Linked DNA regions of Homo sapiens: region 1 is linked to region 2. The links are contacts of gene promoters, found by promoter capture Hi-C in human tissues and cell types (Jung and others, 2019). All regions are on one chromosome and are shown on one strand. Each heading gives the region's core, a stretch centred on a gene start or on the middle of the fragment in contact. The rest is flanking DNA. Distances are from core to core; before and after follow the strand shown.

The links. Contacts are between HindIII fragments. The study calls those that stand out against the background at their distance.
Region 1: a fragment that was not itself captured here is called in contact with the fragment with the promoter of XPO4 in region 2 in 1 of the 25 tissues and cell types used here (lymphoblastoid cells).

The regions. Positions count from the first base shown.
Region 1 is chr13:21,319,106-21,322,511 of GRCh38, forward strand. All of the region lies in intron 2 of LINC00539 (long intergenic non-protein coding RNA 539), which reads right to left. It also overlaps the pseudogene MIPEPP3 and the pseudogene GRK6P1. Among named protein-coding and RNA genes, the nearest start is that of LINC00539, 24 kb to the right of the region's middle. The HindIII fragment of the contact is 7,902 bases long and covers 1-3,406 here.
Region 2 is chr13:20,901,019-20,904,437 of GRCh38, forward strand. It overlaps XPO4 (exportin 4), which reads right to left and starts at 1,728. Exons shown (of 23, transcript NM_022459.5): 1 at 1,652-1,728. The coding sequence starts at 1,720. RefSeq lists an enhancer at 1,491-1,540 and a silencer at 1,751-2,130. The HindIII fragment of the contact is 40,685 bases long and covers 1-3,419 here.

The sequences.
Region 1 (3,406 bases), core at 765-3,264, 420 kb after region 2:
CGCCATCCGGCCTGGGCACTCGCGCGCGATCCCGGCCGGCAGCGCGGCCCATGGAGCTCGAGAACATCGTAGCGGACACGGTGCTCCTCAAGGCCCGGGAAGGTAGCGGTGGAAATCGCAAAGGCAAAAGCAAGAAATGGCGGCAGATGCTCCAGTTCCCCCACATCAGCCAGTGCGAAGAGCTGCGGCTCAGTCTCGAACGTGACTATCACAGCCTGTGCGAGCGGCAGCCCATCGGGCGCCTGCTGTTCTGAGAGTTCTGTGCCACCAGGCCGGAGCTGAGCCGTTGCATCGCCTTCCAGGATGGGATGGCCGAGTATGAAGCGACCCCGGATGAGAAGCGGAAGGCATGTGGGCGGCGGCTAATGCAGAATTTTCTTGAGCCACAGGTTCCTGACCTCATCCCTGAGGTCCCCCCGGCAGCTGGTGACGAACTGCACCCAGCGGCTGGAGCAGGGGCCCTGCAAAGAACTCTCCCAGGAACTCACCCGGGTGACCCACGGGTACCTGAGCATGGCCCCTTTTGCCGACTACCTCAACAGCATCTACTTCAACCGTTTCCTGCAGTGGAAGTGGCTGGAAAGGCAGCCAGTGACCAAAAATACCTTCAGGCAGTACCGAGTCCTGGGCAAAGGTGGCTTTGGGGAGGTGTGCGCCTGCCAGGTGCGGGCCACAGGCAAGATGTACGCCTTCAAGAAGCTAGAAAAAAAGCGGATCAAGAAGCAGAAAGGGGAGGCCATGGCGCTGAACGAGAAGCAGATCCTGGAGAGAGTGAACAGTAGGTTTATAGTGAGCTTGGCCTACACCTGTGAGACCAAGGAGGCGCTGTGCCTGGTGCTGACGCTGATGAACGGGGGCGACCTCAATTTCCACATCTGCCACATGGGCCGGGCTGGCTTCCCCGAAGCGCAGGCCGTCTTCTACGTCCCGAGATCTGCTTGCGGTCTGGAGGACCTGCACCGGGAGCGCATAGTGTACAGGGACCTGAAGCCAGGAACATCTTGCTGGATGACCACGGCCACATCCTCGTCTCCGACCTGGGACTGGCTGTGCACGTGCCCGAGGGCCAGACCATCAAAGGCCGTGTGGGCACCGTGAGCTACATGGCTCCAGAGGTGGTGAAGAATGAACCGTACACTTTCAGCTCTGACTGTTGGGCGCTAGGCTGCCTCCCGCAGGAGATGATTGCAGGCCAGTCGCTCTTCCAGCAGAGGAAGAAGATGATCAAGCGGGAGGAGGTGGAGCGGCTGGTGAAGGAGGACCCCGAGGAGTATTCCGAGCGCTTTTCCCCGCAGGCCTGCTCACAGCTCCTCTGCAAGGACCCCGCTGAACGCCTGGGGTGTCGTGGGGGCAGTGCCCGCGAAGTGAAGGAGCACCCCCTGTTGAAGAAGCTGAACTTCAAGCGGGTGGGAGCCGGCATGCTGGAGCCGCCCTTCAAGCCTGACCCTCGGGCCATTTACTGCAAGGATATTCTGGACATTAAACAGTTCTCTAGGGTCAAGGGTGTGGAGCTGGAGGCTACCGACCAAGACTTCTACCAGAAGTTTGCCACAGGCAGTGTGCCCATCCCCTGGCAGAAGGGGATGGTGGAGACTGAGTGCTTCCAGGAGCTGAATGTCTTTGGGCTGGATGGCTCAGTTCCCCCAGACCTGGACTGGAAGGGCCAGCCACCTGCAAGGGACTGCTGCAGAGACTCTTCAGTCGCCAAAGGATTGCTGTGGAAACTGCGGGGACAGCGAGGAAGAGCTCCCTACCCGCCTCTAGCCCCCAGCCAGAGGCCCCCACGGGCAGTGGGCGGTAGTAGCTACTCCGAGTGCCTTTTACAGTTTTGCACAGTGGACTTCCCCATTGTCCACTCAAGTTGTGGCCTGGGGAACACAGACGGAACTGTCCCCAGTGTCCTCTGCCCCCTCAGCCCCTGGCCTGCCTGAGTTTGGCAGGGCCTGGGCCATCCCTGGGACAAAGGTGCGTCCCTTCAGCTCTTCTCCGTGGAGCTCGGGGCTTTCTGTATTTATGTATTTGTACCAATGTATATAGTGACCAGGGCATTCTTAGTTCCTGCCACAGACCTGGCGCCCCCTCCTTGGCTCCTGGGGGCAGCCAGCCCTGGCTGGGAGAGCGGGAGCTGGCAGAGGAGCCACTGCCAAACTTAAGGCTCCTCCGACCCAGCTTGGATGGCTGAGGATCACACCCCTGAGCCTTCAGCACGGTGCTGACCACCCCTAGCCTCTGAGTAAGACTTGTGCCTGCCCCTGCTGCCCTGGACTCAGGCTTCTGCCCTCTGGGGACTAAAGCTGTCCCTTCTCAGTACTTGTCAGAGCTGGATCTGGGGCCTGTATATCCCCTAGGCCTGTGCCAAAGTGGCCAGAGATTGGGCCGGCTGTGAGACCCATCAGCCCACTGCCCCGGCCGGCCCAGATAGGTCTGCCTCTACCTTCCAGCTCCCAGGGCCTGGTCCCTGATGCTTTCAGGGACGTTTCAGAAACGCCCGAGCCCAGCCCCTAGGAGGGGGTGGGGCATCCCTGGCCAACCCTCAAACATTCCCAACTCCTCTCATAACACTAGACACATGTGCCCAGCAAAAAAAAAAAGGACAAATGCTTCGTGATTTCACTTATATGAGGCACCTAAAGTAGTGAAATTCATAGAGACAGAAAGTAGAATGTTGGTTGTCGGGAGCTGGGGGCAGTGGGGAATAGGGAGATATTGTTTAATGAGGGCAGAGTTTCAGTTGGGGAAGATAAAAATGTTCTGAAGATGGATGGTGTGGATGGTGGTGATGGCTGTGCCATACATAATGTGAAAGTACTTAATGTTCTTGAACTGTGCACTTAAAATGGTTAAATGGTAAATTTTATGTTATGTATATTTTGCTGCAAAAACCCACTTATACAATATAAGGTGACATTATTCCTGATATTTTCTTACCTCTCCCCCTCATACACCCACCCCTACTGCTGTGCATATTCCAGATTTTGATAAACACTTGCTAAACCAATGCTGTCCTCACAGAACATACCCTCCTCTCCTCTTCCTCCCCTGCCCATCTGCATAGACGTGTAGTTGGCCAGCTTACCTGAATAGATCTTTTAAATCAAACCAGTCTAAATATTTGTAATGTGACAAAACATAAAAAGGGATGGAGAAAGCGAGGGAGAGACGGGTGTGCCTCATGCATTCATGGATTTGTATTTATACTCCAATGATCTTGTTATTTTTAAAGTCTGCTAAAGCTGGTTCCACCTGCAGGTTTCTTTTGGTGTCCTAAATCTGTGTGTGCATTCTCCACATGCTTGGAGTCAGCGTACATGAGCTGTTTGTCCCCCAGCTGGCTTTTTGCAGTGGAAGAGGCGCAAACAGAATCCGCAGCACGTAGGACAGGGAGCCTGAAATCCCACGCCGCACA
Region 2 (3,419 bases), core at 478-2,977:
AGAGTGGAAAGACACACAGCTTTAGAGCCAGACAGAACTGAGTTCAAGACCTAATTCAGCCATTTAGTAATCGTGTAACCCGGGCCACTTACAGTTTCTCAACCTTGTAAAGCAAAGCTGTTGCAAGAATTAATAAAATATGTAAAGTATGTAAAGCATCAAGCCCAATATCTAGCACTCAATAAACGGTACTTACTACTATTCTTCTCACCTACTCCTTATAGGGGATAAAAGCAGCTTTGCCAGGGAAGAGGGAAGATATTGGAAAACACAAATACTAGTTTATATTAAGCCAGTGACGAAGGACACTGATTTTACCTGATCAGTGTAAGAACTACAGCCGTGTTTTGGGTGGCATACTCCTTCCAGAATCCAATGAAAACGGAGCCCCTAGCTCCTAGGAAAATTTCAGGAATTTTACAAAACGCTCTATGTCAGGGATTTTTAAGAATCTTTTATTAAGGGGAATACTAGCTAGTTACTTCTGCTTAATTTGCAAAAGTGTGAAAACCTTCACTAGTCTGTTTTGTGACAAAACGTACATTAAGTTAATATTCATAATGAAGCAAGTAAATCCTGCTTTTATTAGACTTCTCGATTTCTAAAGAAACAAAAATATCTGGTGTAAAATATTAGAACTACAAACTACGCTAGAATTAGTTCGAATATTCTCAAATGTGATGCTCAAACACCCTAACACCAAACCAAAAGGAAAAAAGTCCAAAAAGGTAACAAAGCTGGCTGTATCCAATTCTTAGAAAGTCTGAATCAATCCAGGTATCAAATGAACCTCTAACTTCCCAAAACATCTACAAACACCGAAGTCATAATTTGCAAAAACAAAGCTGAGCCAGCAAATAGAAACACTGTTTACTAACTGAACGTAGTTTATCCTTACTTCTCCTCCTTGCATGTAATACTTTTATCCTTTGACTCGGCCTTCTCAAATTCCCTTAGTAAACAATCTCATCAAACTGCTTATTGTAGTGTAAGCATGAAGTCAAAGAGTAGCATAGACTCAGTTCTCCAAATCGCGGGAGCTTTAAGGAGCTTAGCACTAGACCAAGTTTTGCCCCAATGACCTTGGTCTCAACGATTCCCCTCCCTCCCTCCAGCCGGCCCGGCCCTTCCACGTGCTGCCGGCTGCAATTACTCCAGAGGTGGCTGCATGTCAGGGAAGCGCTAGAGGATGCGAATGCACAGGAAACAAGGGTTGCTAACAGCACCCAGGCTGTGCCATCCAATCCCTCCCGACACCAACTCCCCAAGAGCGCTCACACAGCCCTACAAATTTCCCCTACCGAAGCCCTGCGGGGATAACCCCAACTCCTTCCCGGCGCCTTGCTCTGCGACCCAGTCTGTGGGGCAGGGTGTAAGGTGAAGAAATTCTCTTTGCTACACCACTATATTCCCACGCCCGACTGGGGTGCTGGGCAGCCAGGGGAAGGGGACAGCTCCTGGAAGGAGGGGACGACGGCAGGAGGAAAGTAGGCTGAAGAATCCTGCGCCACGCCACCGCCACCTCCTCCTCCACTTCCAGGCTCCCTGCAGGCCCTTGCCAGTCGCCAGCCCAGCGAGCAGCAAGGCCTGGAGTGGCAGGGCCGACCGGGGGCCCGCGAATCCCGGGGTCTGAGGGGCGCGGCGTCCTCACCATCAGAACTTTAGCCGCGTTCTCCAGCTGAGCGATCACTTCTGGGGGCCCCAGCGCCGCCGCCATCATGGTCTCTCTTCAATGACGCGCCATGCGCTGCATTCTGGGAGCGGGCGCCGCGGCCGGCCAATCGCCGCCGCGACCCCGGAGCCTCACGCGCTCCCAGGGCCGTCGCAGCCGCTGTCGACACCGGCGTCGCGGCCTCGGCGGGTCTGGCCGGGCTGCCGGGTTCCGGGTGGCTGGGAGGGGACTAGTGTGAGCCCGGCCGCCGCGCTGGGGCGGGGGCGGCCGCAGCCGGCACCGGGCGAGGCCGAGGCGGTCTGCCCAGACTGCTGCAGCCGCGCGCCCCGCTAAGCTCCCAGCCCCGCGCATGCGTGGTGTCCGGCGCCCCGGCCTCGCGGTGCCCCCGGCCCTCTCCCCACTACCCTAGTACAGCCCGCCCGGGGACCCGCAGATCCACGACGCCAGTTCGCTCCCTCCGTTCTCAGCCCTGCACACCGCCTCCCCTGGCTCCTCCTTGCCCTTCCACGCTCCAGCGCCGTGCAGGATTTCCTAAACTTGGAATCGCTCTTCCCGCTTTCCCCTCCTCAGAGCGCACCTCCTTTCAAAGTATCTCTGTCTCCTGCTTCTCTGTTCCTTCTTGCCATGGGAGAACATTCCAGGATAGAACGCTTCGTTTTCTTTCTTTCTTTTTTTTTTTTTTTGGAGACAGGGTCTCACTCTATCGCCCAGGATGGAGTGCAATGGCCCTATTTCGGCTCACTGCAACCTCCGTCTCCCGGGTTCAAGCGATTCCCCTGCCTCAGCCTCCTGAGTATCTGGGATTACAGGCGCCCGCCACCACGCCCGGCTAATTTTTGTACTTTTAGTAGAGACGAAGTTTCACCATGTTGGCCAGGCTGGTCTCGAACTCCTGACCTCAGGTGATCCGCCCGCCTCGGTCTCCCAAAGTTCTGGGATTACAGGCGTGAGCCACCGCCCCCGGCCGAACGCTTCGTTTTCATAATGGAGGGCTTTGGCCTTCTGCAGGACAATCATCCAAATGTATCTGGGCAGCGGGTCGCTAGGAGACCCTAGGAGGAAAACCCGTCTTTGGCTCTTGCCGTTTTCACTCTTTAAGGGCTGGCTCACATAGGAGAGGGAGAAAGCAGGGACAGGAAAGCCTGACCTTGACTACCTGGCTTCTCAAATGCAGTAAGATGAGCTTTGTCGGCCAGGCGCTGTGGCTCATGCCTGTAATCCCAGCACTTTGGGAGGCCAAGGCAGGCCTCATTTTAGCTCAGGAGTTCGAGACCAGCCTGGGCAACATCGTGAGACCCTGTCTCTACCAAAAAAAAAAAAAAAAAAAGCCCGGTGTGGTGTCTTGCGCCTGTGGTCCGAGCTTCTCGGGAGGCTGAAGCGGAAGGATTGCCCAGGAGGTCGAGAGTGCAGTGGGGCGAGATCACACCACGGCACTCCAGCCTGGGTGAGAGGCTGATCCTGTCTCAGGAAAAAAAAAAAAAAGGACAAAAATCAGCATTGTCGTGTTTGTGGAATCCGTGTTGAAAGGCATATTAGAGTATCAAGTAATTAACCTTCCCTCCGGTGCTCCAGTTGCCTCTAGGACATTCCACGCAAGTGGTCCTGACAGCTGTTTCAGTATTCAAACCAGTGCTGTTAGGTTGTTCGGATCAGGGGTTTGTTTCGTTTTGAGCTGACATCTACGGTCTACATTCCTATAACTTCTTTTTGGTGCTTATTCAGCCTTCTGAAACAACACAGACAGTCA